Linked DNA regions of Homo sapiens: regions 2 and 3 are each linked to region 1. The links are contacts of gene promoters, found by promoter capture Hi-C in blood cells and fetal thymus (Javierre and others, 2016). All regions are on one chromosome and are shown on one strand. The core of a region is centred on a gene start or on the middle of the fragment in contact, and the rest is flanking DNA. Distances in the headings are between cores, read along the strand shown. Region 1 holds the start of NCOA7-AS1 (NCOA7 antisense RNA 1). Region 2 has its middle 11 kb from the start of HDDC2. Region 3 overlaps LOC107986640 (a long non-coding RNA gene).

The links. Contacts are between HindIII fragments. The CHiCAGO score rates a contact against its expected background, and 5 or more counts as called.
Region 2: a fragment that was not itself captured here is called in contact with the fragment with the promoter of NCOA7-AS1 in region 1 in 15 of 17 cell types (naive B cells, total CD4 T cells, total B cells and 12 more); the score reaches 19.4 in naive B cells.
Region 3: a fragment that was not itself captured here is called in contact with the fragment with the promoter of NCOA7-AS1 in region 1 in 1 of 17 cell types (total B cells); the score reaches 5.2 in total B cells.

The regions. Positions count from the first base shown.
Region 1 is chr6:125,817,021-125,821,736 of GRCh38, forward strand. It overlaps NCOA7-AS1 (NCOA7 antisense RNA 1), which reads right to left and starts at 1,838. Exons shown (of 3, transcript NR_126386.1): 1 at 1,790-1,838. All of the region lies in intron 2 of NCOA7 (nuclear receptor coactivator 7), which reads left to right. RefSeq lists an enhancer at 1,063-1,564. The HindIII fragment of the contact is 4,548 bases long and covers 1-3,312 here.
Region 2 is chr6:125,310,774-125,315,489 of GRCh38, forward strand. No RefSeq gene overlaps it. Among named protein-coding and RNA genes, the nearest start is that of HDDC2, 11 kb to the left of the region's middle. The HindIII fragment of the contact is 2,654 bases long and covers 1,144-3,797 here.
Region 3 is chr6:125,351,480-125,356,195 of GRCh38, forward strand. It overlaps LOC107986640 (a long non-coding RNA gene), which reads left to right. Exons shown (of 3, transcript XR_001744328.3): 3 at 668-4,600. Among named protein-coding and RNA genes, the nearest start is that of HDDC2, 52 kb to the left of the region's middle. The HindIII fragment of the contact is 9,886 bases long and covers 1-4,716 here.

The DNA of each region.
Region 1 (4,716 bases), core at 588-3,087:
GCATTTAGCTTTTTCTTCCCTTCAGCATTACTCCCTTGACATCCCTCAAAGCTGTTGCATGTATCGATAGTTTGTTCCTTTTTATTGCACAGTAGCATTCCATAGTATGGATGAATCACAGCTTTTTAGTCATTTACCCATTGAAGGGCATTTAGGTTGTTTCCAGTTTGGGCTATTTATGAACAAAGATGCTAGATGCTACAATCATTTATGTACAAGTTTTTGTATGAGCATGAGTTTTCATTTCCCTGAGATAATTGTCTGAGAGTGCAATTGCTGGGTCAAAAGATAAGTGTATTTTTAGTTTTATAAAAAAGTGCAATACTCTTTTCTGGAATGGTTGTAACATTTGACATTCCCATCAGCAAAGTCTGAGTAATCCAGTTTGTCTGCATTGTCATTTGGTGGTGTCAATATTTTTTATTTTTATCTTAGCTATTCTGATAAGTATGTAGTGATATCTCATTATGGTTTTAATTTGTATTTCCTTAATGGTTAGTGAAGTTTAACATTTTCATGTGCTTATTATTAGCCATAGTGTATCTTCTTTAGTGGCATCTCCTTTCCTATCTTTTGCCCATTTTCTAATTGAATTGTTTAGGTTTTTACTGTTGAATTGTACACATTCTAGTCTTTTGTTGGATATGTGATTTGCAAATATTTTCTCCCGGACTGTAGTTTGTCTTTTCATCCAGTTAACAGAGTTGCAGAGCAAAAGGTTTTAATTTTGATGTGGTTCAATTTATCAGTTTCTCCTTTTATGAATTGTGCTTTTGGTCTGAATTCTAAGATCTCTTTGCCTAGCTGTATGTTCTGAAGATTCTCTCCTGTTTTTCTTTTCTGAAAATTTTATAGCATTATGTTTTATATTTAAGTCTGTGATCCATTTTGAATTTATTTGTGGATAAGATATGAGTTTAGGTCAAAATGGTGGTCATGCTTCTCCTCCCCTTCCTCCCCGTCTCCCTTCCTCACCTCCTCCCTTTCTTCCTGCTCCTCTTCCTGCTCCTCTTCCTCCTCTTCTTCCTCCTCCCCCTTCCCGCTTCTCCCCCTTCCTTCTTTCTCCCACCTCCTCCTTCCTCCTCCTCCTTACTTTCTTCTTCTTTCTTTTCTTTCTTCTTCACTTGCCCTACATAGTGATTTTAAGAGCTATAGTGCCTTCTCAGCCTGAATCCAAAGTGATTCCTGTAGTAAAGGTAACTGCCGGTTCATGAACAACCTGCTCAATGTTAACCTCTTCTTGTTCCTAAAATGTAGAGTCAGGGGAGCCCCTGAAACTGAGAATACAAACCAAAACTGTTCTGGAAGAGCAGCACAGTTTTTTCAACTCAGAAATGTAAAATTGTCTTGCTTATCATGACCTCTTCTGAAAAGTATTCTAAAAATGAAACAAAAAACGTATCCTAAAATGCTGAAATGTGATCTTGGGAGCATAGGGACAGTGGCACAAGGATGAAATCAGTGATGCTCTTAAGACAGTAAGACAACATGATTTGTAACTAGGAAATGAGAGAGATGGAGAGAGGAGAATGGAGAGAAGAGGGGGTAGGAGCAGGGAGAGAGAGAAAGAGACAGAGAGAGAAACACTGACTGACAAACCTGTAGTTTAGCTCTTACAATGCAGTGGAAGCCAGAAATGGTCAAGCTATTAAAAGCAAAAGGCAAACCAAAGAGAAAAGAACCCCCTTCAGCCTATAATCAGAAAAGAGCCATCCAAAGTTATACATCTTTTCAAATGCCTTCTGACTTAACTGTGGAATTACCATGTGGAACTAGCAACAGAACTTACTTGAAAGCTGGTTTCTGACAATGTAGAGCAGAGTTCTCTGGAGCAGCGTACTTAAGGGCAGTCCAAGCAAGATCTCTGGAGAGAAGGATAAAATGTCAGGCCAAGGGTGAGGCCAAACTGATGCAATCTCAGTTTTCTCTAAACTAAATTATACCACCTTACATAAATCTCAACTGGTGTTCTGAGGAAGTCAAAAGGAAGATTTACCCTGATGCTGTGCCTGCTGCCACAATTACATATCTGAAACCCTAAAAACTGCTTTTTAGCCTGCTTCCCCCTTCCACCTAGGAAAAACTAGGAACACCTAGTTTTTCCTCCTGAGTAGTTAAATAGCCAATGTTTTCTTTGTGTGCTATCTTATCATGTGGTTTCATAATCGTTGTGTGACTGTGTTTGATAAATAGTCCTTTGCCAAACCTGTTTTGTTGACGTTTCGCTCTTTAACATCAAAATAGAGTTTAAAATACCCTATTTTAATAATTTTGGATTGAAATTAGTGATTTGAGGGTCACCCAGTCTTTCCTTTCTTATAATTTATCTTGAAATATGCCTGTGTAACTCTAAATAGAGGGGTGGATTAATACTGCTACTAGATAGAGTAATTCTGGATAAGACCTGATGAATTTTTTGGATTTTCTGACCCTGGTCCAACTGGTTTTCAGGTGCTTCAGGATAGTTTTATAACAGTTGTTAAATCTAGATTGAATGATTTGTGAAACTTTTTCACAAATGGTTTTGCAAATAATTTATATATGCAAAATTAGTATATGTCTATATTAATTTCTTGATCCCTGACAGGTCTTGAAAACCAAATGAAAAACTGAATTACTAAAGCAAATTATACTTTCTGTACTATTTGTACTGTGTACAATTTATGCTATCCTCTGGGGTGACTATCATGTGTCATTTGTTACACCCCTGCTGACTCTTCCTTCCCCTTGTAGTTAGAATGCAAAATTTTCTTTAGTATTGCCATACAGGGCTGTCTTCTTACACACTTGCTTGACATTATTTGGCTTTTGTGATTTCCGAGTAGGTCCTTGTATGCCATTGGTTGAAGATTCTTTGAAAGCATTTTTTCAGGATCAAGCGTTGATTGAAGATATCCAAAATACATCTGTAGTTGAACCAAATGGTGTTTTGTGGGAGGTTTACTTTTCCCCTCTGATAAGGTGTGAGAGCCTGGGAGTAAACAGTGAGTAATATAGACGAAGACACAGACTGGGTGTTCATGTAGGTCCCTTGTTGGCTCCCACCTCCCCTATTCCCTGGTTGTCATGAAAAGCAGAACTGCTGCTCCCACCTCCGCTTTCCTCTTAACCCAGCCTTTCAGAGCAGCAGTAGGAGCCAGCACCACCTCTGTCATCATTCTCAGTGACAAAGGATGCAAAGTGTAGAACATTTCTTAGCTCCCATCTCCAGCCTCTGCCCTGGCAATTCTTCACCCTTGAACCTCTGACCCACAAGCAGAACACCTAGTGTTTGCAGTTCACTCCAGTGTATAACCTCTGGCAAGTCTTCTAAGCTTCCTTTACCTTACATTTCTTCAGTTGTTAAATGTTGCTAAAAATAACCAACTAACAAGATGCTTTTGAAGAAGGAGACATCCCAACCAGCCAGAACTGGAGAGAAGCTCAAATGGGACCCAGCAAGGAGGGCCAGAGCTGAACAGCTGGTCCCCTTATTCTCTTTTCCATGGCAGAGGAGATTTGAACCCACTGTATAGCTTTCTCTGTTGTGTGAATAGTACACTTTGTAGCTTTCGTGTTCAAGTAAAATGAAACCAAGATGGCTATGAAGATTGAGGGTAATATACGAACAGTACCTGATACAGTGAGTACTCACACATTCCTTTAATAACAAATCATTCCTGATCTTACTTCTGTGTCTACCTACATCTTCACCTAATTTTCATCTTGACCTCCCACTTTCAGCCCATGAGCTGCTCCTGTTGTTCAGATCAGGGAAGAAGGAACACTTAACGACAATCCAAATTGGAACCATATCATTTCCCAAAGATACTTTGCTATAAGCACAGTTAGTTAGGTTCTGGGATATAATGAAGTGGAGTTATATAGTCAAAGGGCCTTGAGAAACCTAACAGTCTTTTATTTAACAGTTGGACCCTAAGCCCATGAGGTGAAAGGGTCCATGATAGGCTGGCTCTATCCCAGGGTACTTTTAGATATATTAATTGGTAATCAGAGCCTCACCACTTGAGTGGCTTGATGAACCGTCATGTCAAGCGGCGTGCCAGTGATACTGGCCCCCTTGGTCCTCAGAGTGGCCAGGCAGGGATTGGGTTTGTCAGAGACCTGGGCTGGTCATCTTTAGCTATGATCAGCATCTTACCCCAGGGATGAGTAGAAGTATTATCATCTTTCTGCATGCCTTGATATGAAAAAGGCTTTTGTAAAAAGTGATCCAGATTATCTTCATACCAAACATCTGATTTAAAAAAAGTTCATCCCTAAATATAATTTGACTGCTATGATAATTTATACTCAAAGGGGTTGAATAACTTCACTGAGATAAGATAGGCGTGTCAGGATTTGAACTCAGGTCTTCCCTTCTCCATCCAGAGCTTATGCTCTGCAGTGCTGCCATGTGCCCCTTTAGTTGCAAAACGGGGCTTATAGAACACAGGTCACCTGACCTGCTGCTACTCACAGTGTGGGTTGCATAGATTTCTGTGGGCAGTCTTGACAGCTGAACATTAATTTACACCAGTGTAAATTAATTTGGAGAAATGCATCATAGGTTCTAAAGGTCTAACTTATAAGCGACCTTTTCAAAAATAATTTGTTTATAACTTGACAACATCCCATAATCCATGTCTTATCAACTTATTCATCTATAATATGGTTAATGTCAGAGTATTAACCTACCAAGACAATAGGAAGCAGGCAGTCTGTAATACTTCACCT
Region 2 (4,716 bases), core at 1,221-3,720, 510 kb before region 1:
TGCAGAAGCCACCATCAGATAAAACATTGTTCCTTATGCTTTCATAATTAACGATAAGCATTCCCCACCACCCACCCCGCCGGCCTTTCTTTTCAGACTGGGGAAAGAGAATTCTGAATGGTGATCAAGGTCACATTTTAACTTGCAAATGTCAAGAAGAATCTCATCATTCTTGGTTATTTTTGATTGATTAATATATTAGTTAATTGCTGATGAGTTGCTAATGAGCTAATTTATATGCACAGATAGGATCTAACTATGACATAGGAGTAGCATGCAAAGCTGCAAAGCACTGCTAAACAGATCATGGGTGCTGTCCATGGCACCTCTCAGGGCAGGTTAGAGAGAAGAGTGTGGAAACATTGTGCCTCTCTTCCCACCTACTCAATAAAGACAACAGGGAAAACACATGGAGGCATCTTTGGCCATGAACTCCTCACTGCTTTACTAAGCAGCCACCTGTAGTATTAGAATACTACCACTAAGTGGCACCATCTCATTAGTATTCTCTTTTATCAGACTCCTGAAACCTGCTGCGCCTTCTCTTCTGGACCACGGAATACATTTATTGTTCTGTGTTGGCTGATTTGGGTTTAGCAAAAGGGATCTGCTTTCAACATGCTCCTGTGTTTTTTTTCCTCCTTTCCCACGTGTTTCTTTCATTCTTGGGAATCTGAGCCAATACTTAGGCATACGCATAGAGATGAAGGCCATCGTACTGGTAATAACCATAACAGACAACTTAAAGAAGACAAATACTAATAGTGAGCTTTTTAATTTGTAGAGATGAGTTCCCACTATGTTTTCCAGGCTGGTCTCAAATTCCTGGCCGCAAGCGATCATCCTGCCTCAGCCTACCAAAGTCCTGGGATTACAGGCATGAGCCACTGTACTTGGCCCTTTTTTTCTGCAACAATCCCCCAAAGCCTGAATTTTTTTTTTATTTGTAAAAAATAAATAGGGAACTTTAATTGAAGGCTTTTATTTTTGTACTGGGGGCTTTCCAGGTATTATTTCCCAAATTCATCAGCACTCAGTAAGGTTGCCTTCATTTTGTGAGCAAAGAAGCTGAGATTCAGAGAATTAAAGCAAACTTTTCAAAGATGCCCAATGAGAAGGTAAGTGAGACACAACAGGAGTCTAAGCTTACATAATGTCAGAGCATTAATGATCTTTGAATCATTCATGTGACTTAAATATTAGGTATAGTGAGAAAAGACAGAAAAAGTCTAACCCTTCGTGAAGTTCAAAATTGGAAAGGGAAAATAGAGTAAGTGAACCAAATTATTTGTAATACAAAACAATGAGTTATATATGAAATCCATCAAGTTTATAAAGGGTCTGAAATTATTGGGGACACTTACTAGGTACATGCCTCCAGTCCAGGAGACATCCTGAAACCAAATCTTCTCTTGAAGTAGAATTTTTCTGAAAGGGACATAGCTCTGAAGATGAGAGTGAGGAAGTTAGAATAAAAAATATATATTCTCGGGTTTAGCCCTCAAACTCTTGAATCTTTGCTGAAGATGATTTTGTTTCATGACACATTAATTTGTCCTATGTTATTTGAGGTGACGTCTTAGCTCTGTAAATAAGTAAAGGAGATCTAAGTAAACGTTTCAAAGGCTAACAGGCCAAACTCTCCTAGACTGATTATCCCCCAGAACCCCAGGAAAAGCAAGAGCCAGGAATCTCATAATGTGAAGACAAACTAACATTGACGTGTTATGGGCTTGACCTCCCACTTCATGTCTTGCATGCATCACTGTACTTATAACAACCCAACAAGATATGTGTAATACTACATTCGTATTCCATCAGGATGTTGAACTTAGGCAGGTTCAGCACTCACCAGAGGTCACACAGCCAGTGAGTGGTGAAGCTGGGATTCCATCCAAACTGGCAGATCAAAGAACTTGGCTTTTAACCTTTAAATACACTGCCTCCACTTGGCATGCTACATGGTGGTGAGCAAATGCTCTGGCCATTGTAATACTAACTTAAACTTGATTTATGTTTCAAAGAAGTTTCAAGTACATTATTGAATTTGATGCTAAGAACAATCCAATGAGAAAGGCAGTTTAGATTTTCTTATTACCACACCCGCCCTCTAACATGCACACACACAGACACAGACACACACACCCCAGGAGAGTTTAAGTGACTTGGGTTAAACCACAGAGCTACTAAGTGGCTGACCCTGAACTTGAACCTAAGTGTTCTCATCCTTAGCCTACTGCCTTTTTCCTGTGACAGCAATACCACTTCACAGTAAAAAAAAAAAAAAAAAAAAAAAAAAAATGAGGTAAAATTTCCTCCATGTCACTCAGAACATGACATTATCTCCAAAAGTCTCTGTTAAAAGTTAGGCAAGTGGCCAGGTGCAGTGGCTCACACCTGTAATCCCAGCACTGGGAGGCCGAGGTGGGTGGATCACTTGAGGTTATGAGTTTGAGACCAGCCTGGCTAACATGATAAAACCCCATCTCCACTAAAAATACAAAAATTAGCTGCGCATGGTGGTGCATGCCTGTAGTCCCAGCTACTCACAAGGCAGAGGCAGGCGAATCGCTTGAACCGGGAGGCGGAGGTTGCAGTAAGTTGAGATCGCACCACTGTACTCCAGCCTGGGTGACAGAGTGAGATCCTGTCTCAGGAAAAAAAACAAAGACAAGTTACTTAGAAAATATCGTATGAACATCAAATCATATTAATACGTACAGGTGTATATTTTAAATCACTTTAAAGCTCCCTATAAAGGAGAATCTAAAACTGCTTTTTCAAAATTTTTGCATGAATAAATTCAGACACATGTGTAGTGATTTACATAAGTTTATCCAGAAATCAACATCTGTGTTTTGTGTGTGTTATGGATAGAGAGATTTGTACTTTATTTGCACTAGCCACATGCAACAAATGTATAAAGATAAAATCTCTATTCAGATACAGTCTAAGATATCACAATTAGTTTTTATTTAGTCTCAATTTTCTGGTACCCTCTAAGCTGTAAAATCCTGGGAATCCAAAAAAAAGAGTTCAAAAGAAAGGGCCTGAGGGCAGCAGTCAGTGGCTGGAGAGTCAATAGGGGAGTCTTAGAAGTCATTGCACCACTCTGAACCCCACATTCCTCACCTATAACAAAAGGGCTTAGAAGAACTCTAAGATCTCTAAAATGCTAAGGAATAATTCTTAACCTCGATAAAGTCTGAAGACTTGTTTTACTCTGTAAGGATCTACATTTTAAAATAAGTAGCTAAGAATTTTCCATTGCCGTCTTTTAGTAGTAGATTTTTATTGACACAGAACACTCAGGGCTATTTTTCAGAGCCCAGATTTATCCACCTCCCGTGTGCTTCCACTAAAACCGACACGATGTACAGTCTCAGGCACTTTCTCACTGTTTAATAAAAAGGTAATTGGGTGAAGAGCCGTGAGAAAATACTAGTGACTAGATTATTCACTCTTCCGCTGGCCAATGGTTCCTCTGATTTTGGCCCACAGGGGGCCACTTTGATTCGCTGCTGAGAGGTGGCGCTCTTGACCAAAATATCCTCACATCAACGCTGGTGGAGGCTTCCCACTTTATGACTTCCTTATAATAGGCCACAGATGTTCAGTGCAAATGACTGTGCAATACATTGATATCAAAAATTGTTATCACCATACCCCATTCCCTTGGATGATGAATTTCATTTAGAATTACAAAGGAGCAGGAAAAAGGAAGAGGAAGAGGGCAAAACCTCAAAAGACTTCCAATGTTTCAAGAAAATGTTGGACTTTGTTGTGCGCCACTATCAAGCTTTTTCCAAATTTGGTTTCCAAATTACTACGGCAAAGAGGTGAGGTTAAAAGGTTTTGCTGTCTGCAGGCAGAAGGCATCTTTGTGCTGATATGTACCAGCATTCATGTAGAGCTCTAGAGAAAGAGACCCAAGTACTCAGAGACTTTCAAAGGTACAAGTATTATTCTTAGTAATAAACCCCAAATTGTTATACATAGAAATTTGAAATTTAGAATTTAATAAACTGTAGTTCAAATTAACATAGAATCCTCAGAAAGCAAGGCATAAGGATTTGTTTCCCTGATTTAAACTGATGATATGATAGGATGCATCTCTTTATACCCTCCGAATCATGAATCTTTTCACGGCCATGAAATAAAACATGTTAGGGTTTTCTCTTGGCCTGGGGACAAACTGGCTGCCCTTCTGTTAGTCCCATAGATCGGGTCAACTCTCCATGGATATACCAGTACCCCCAGTTTCTGTCTGTCATGACAACTCACCTTGGACAATGCTTCAAATTATTAGATAATCCTTATATTAAAACAAAATTTGTTTCCCTGAAGTTTTAAATTTTAATTCATAAACAAGACAATACTTTAAGATTTTTTTGAGCATCTGCCATGTGCCAGTCCTTGTGAGGGCTTACAAATAAAAAGGTGAGGAAGTTATATGTAGTTTACCTGATCTTGTGGAATTTATAGCACACTTCTCTAGTTCTCTCAATTTTTCCATCCTAATGCTCCTAGGAAATAGATCACATTCCCATTGTAACAGTGGCACTCTACAGCAGGCACATGAGCATCTCAGCAGAGAAAGGAATTATAACCTGAGGAAGTCCCCAAGTGACTCTACTTACCACATGCCCCTCTTTCAGAATCACTGCTCCAATGGCTCTATATTCCTATAGAAGTTTAATCCTACATCAACAGGGT
Region 3 (4,716 bases), core at 649-3,148, 470 kb before region 1:
ACTAGTCGCTACCCAGACTGCCTCTCTACCTATTGTGGTCCAGGCCTTTTAGATCCATGGTGTTCCTCCAGACATTGCTGTTAGCTCCATAATTAGAACTAATGCACTCCCTAGACCCCAGTGACATGCTCCTGTGCTGTTGGATTGTCCTGTTTTGTAAATAAATTTCATTTGGTCTTCAAATTATCAACTTGCAGAAAATCCAGTTGAAGGTTTATTTAAAAGAAGATAGCCATTTGGACTGAATTAACTGGCCTGTTCAATCCAATGACTTCTTGAATAATCTAGTGTAGATTTAATCAAGTCACTTTCACCCTCAAAAATTGGTTCCTAAATAACAACCACATCTTAATCTGCTAAACTCGCACTTTTTCCCTACAAGAGCCCACTGCTCTGGACAAACCCATGAAGCTGTGGACATCAAACATGTTACTGGTCATCCAGACTCTGTGTTTCACCTAAATCTACCCCTATGGTGTAAGTGAACTAGAGAAACAAAGGCTTGATTCTCTAGCACTAAGATGTGCTAACTTATGTTAAGAACTTTTATTTTAGGATGTACATAAGTTAGAATTAAGTTCAGCTGTTAGTAATAGCGATCTACTTAGAGTGACTTAAACAGTTTAAATGTCTATTATCTTACTTTTTCTTTTTTTTTTTTTTACAGGAGACAGGGCCTCTTTCTGCCCCCCAGTCTGGAGGGCAGTGGAGCAAACTCTTGGGTTCAAGCCATCCTCCTGCCTCAGCTTCCTGAGTAGCTGGGATTACAGGAATGTGCCATAGTACCTGGCATATTCTCTTTTTTTTTAAAAGTTGAGAGGTATTTTTTACAGGTTTGGTGTGGTAACTGTTTGTGTTAACCCATTTTGTACTGCTGTAACAGAATAGAACAGACTGAGTAATTTATAATGAACAAAAATGTATTGGCTCATGGTTCTGGAGGCTGGGAAGTACAAGGTTGAGGGGCTGGCACCTTGCAAGGGCCTTCTTGCTACATCATCCTAGGGAGGAAGGGCAAAGGGTGGGATGAGAGGGAGGGAGACAGAAAGAAAGGGCAGGAGAGAGGGAGAGAGAGAAGGAAAGTGAGAGAGAGAGAGAGAGAAAGAAAAAAGAGAGAGAGAAAGAAAGAGAAAAAAGAGAGAAGAGAGAGAGAGATTGAGAACAGAGAGCCAAACTTATCCTTTTGGAAACCACTTCTGAAATAACAGCATTAATCTATTCATGAGGGCAGGGCCCCCACAGTCTAATTATCTCTTAAAGTTCCCACCTTTCAATACTGTTACAAAGGAAATTAAAATTTAACATAAGTTTGAGAGGGTACAAACATTCAAACCATAGAACCCTACAAAAATCTCACAGACCTAGACTTATTTCTTGCTGTTCTGCCTTCTGTTCTCAAGGTCACAAGAGGGCTGATAGAGCTGTAACTATTCACTTCACGGTGGAAGAAACAATAAGGAAAGAAGATATGATCCTCCTTTCTAAAGTGCCTTCTGGAGGTACTTTCTATTTTCCTCCCATTACCCTGAGCCTCATCATATGGCCAAACCAGAGAGGCCGGGAAATGTAATTTCACAGCTGAACACAGTTAAGTTTCCATTATAAAGAAAGAGAACGAGAAAGGATATTAGAGGCAAGAAGCTGTTCCTGTCACAGTTAGCATTAAAACTAAAGTTAGAGAAGAAAATTTTCTCTTTCATTTAATGTTCTATAAAGCAACATTTATTGATGAACTCACTGTCCTAGACACTAAGGATTCAAAAACCGAAATGACACAGTTCTTGTCTTCAGAATATCACAGTCTAATGGAGAAAATACGTGTTCATGTCCATAGATGATTACATACTAGATGTACCCCTAGATTTTTATGAGAACAAGTAAGATAAACTCCCCACTCAGACAAGGGTGAGGAAAAGGAAGAAGGCTTTATGGAAGTCACAGAAGAAAAATACGGAAAGAAAGTAGACTTTGGTGACAATGTATTGGGCAGAGGTCAAATAAAGATAGAAAATACGTCCATTGGGTTTAATAACAACAGAGGCCTTTAGTGAGCTTGGGGAACACTGTTTCAGGGGAGTGCAGGAAATCAAATCCAGTGGGGCAAAATGTGACTATTAATGATAAAGTTGAGAGGGAAAATACAGAAAAGTCTTTAAGAAATGTAGTTATAAAGAGGAAAAGAGAAGGAAAATGGCAGCTAACAAGGTCTAGGCTAGGGAATGGTTTTTTTAAGGATAAGAAACATATGAGGATACTTCAATACCACCGAGAATGTACAAAAAGAGGGACAGAGACAGATATACAAATAAAGAGAGGAAAGAGAGCAGGTGAGCTTATCCTCTGAAATGGCAGAAATCAAAGTAAAATCTAATGCCAAGGCAAGTGATATCTAAGACAATGATCATAAAACTGAGACGTATCTGAAGATAATCTCTATGTTTTCTGTGAAGTAGAAGTCCCAGTTCTGACATAGCAGTAGAGTCAGGGAGAAGAGTGATACATGCAAAAGAGTGATATGCTTTACATTAGCCATTACTAGCAATAAGAAAGACAGGGATGGGTGAAGAAAAGAAAGAAGAGTAGGAAGTAGGAAAGGGCATGCATATTATGAAAATCTTTTCTCTCACCTCTGTCCCCAGTCCCCACCACAGAGGCAATTACTGTCACTAATTTATTGTGTATTTTTCCAGAGGTATTCTATTCCAATACAAGCAAATATCTATATTTATCCCTTTTTACATTTTTACATATGGTGCATACCATACACATTTACCTTGTTTTGGATAATTTAAATATACATAGGTATACTGCTACTCTCCCAATCCCTGAGATACCATCATTAACTCCTCCCTATCTACAAACAAGATGATCATGTCAGAGATGTTAACTGTCTTGCTCAAGATTCTTAGCTGACAAATAAGTAGTGAAGCAGGAAAAACAGATTCCACCATTATATCCATATAATAGATCTGTATTACATTTGGAACTGTTCTCTCAACCAGAAATTAAATCTAAGAGAAAAATACACTTGGAAATTTAACCTCAGAGTGAGTGACTTGAATGCTCCAACTATGCTGTCATCATCATGAAATATTCTACTGCTGTGTTCTATTACTGTTTTGAAACTGTGTCAAAGACCAATTGATAGATAGTCCAGTCAGAAGATCTCAGCTGTGTATGGATATCAAGAGGCACTTAGCTCTAGGAAGGTAGCCTTCTTATGCCTCTTACAGAATTTCTCTCTCCAATTTAGTTGGAGACACAGTGGCCCTGCCTGCCAATTTTAGATCACTCTCCCGCTACAATTTACATAATTTACATTTTAACCTTACTTATCTACCGAAACAGGCCAATGACCCTCCTCAAACAGCTGTGCGTTCTATTTCCTGAGTTTCTGCACTTGTTTCTTTCACTTGAAACTGCCCCTAACACTGCCTCACTTGGACAGCTTCTTTATCTTTCCAAACATAGATTAATTCATTTGCTAATTCAATAAGTACATACTAAGTGCTGGCTACCATCCAGAAAGTTTCAGCCCAGAAGTTTTGATGGGACACAGGATAGGCAAGGGATCTGTCCTCAGGAACTTGTACTCTAGTGTAGAAAGCAGATAAAAACAAATAGATGTATTAACTAGAGATTGTTTGGGGTTCTATGAAAAAAATAAACAAGGTGTTGGAATGGGACATTACAAGAGTGACTCATTTTAGATTGTTAGAGAGATTAAGTTGAGACCTCAAGGGTGAGAAGGAGCCAGCTCTGTGGAAAGCAGGGGAAGGATGTTTCAGGCAGAGGAAAAGCAAGTACTATGGCCTTGAAGTGATAAAGTGGCTTAACCTTTCTAAGAACTGACAAAAGGCCATTGTTGCTGGTGCATAAATGAGGAAGGGGACAGGAGAGAACATAAAGGGAGGAGGTTAGAGAGGTGGGGCAGACCCAGACCATGGAGGGCTTTGTCAGTCAAGGTAACCGAACTCAACTCTAAGGATAATGGGGAAGGATTAAAAGGTTTTATGCAAGGAAGAAAAGAGATGACAACATCTGGTTTTGTTGTTAAACAACTAATTTGGCTACTTTGTAAATAATGCATCAGAAGAGACCGTGTGAAAGTGGGGAATCTGCTGAGGTGCGTGTGATAGTCTGCATGACAGACGATGGTGGCATGAACTAAGGTAGTGGCTGTGGAGATGAAGTGGGATTAACAGGACTTGCTAGTTGATGTGGCTGGTGTCAAGGATGACCCTAAGTTTCCATCCTTGGTAACTGGGTGGATGGCAGCACTGTAGCTCGCCTACACAGATCTGCTTCCTTCTTCTAGGCAAGTGCAAGCTGTCCTGCTCCAGGGCATATAGTCCATTAAGAAATGTGCAGGTTGGAGTTCAGACCCCCCACCCCTCTGCAGGACACTTTTCTGCAACCTCACTTGGTGAGCTTGGTGTTATGCTCCTGGGACAGCCACTGCAATGAGGGAAACTGGGGCTGGTGCAGATTTGGTAGCGGGGTGAGAGTAGAGAGTCCCATATTGGCCACATAAAATTTGAGTTGCCAAGAGGATAAGCCAATAGGTGATACCAAATAAGAATTTGGATATGCCCATTGAGATTAGGGAAGAGCTGAAGATTACAATGAATAAATGTTGGAGTTGTTAGTATTCAGATGATATTAAAAGTCATAAGAATAAATGAGATCTGCTGGGCACACACAGTGGCTCATGTC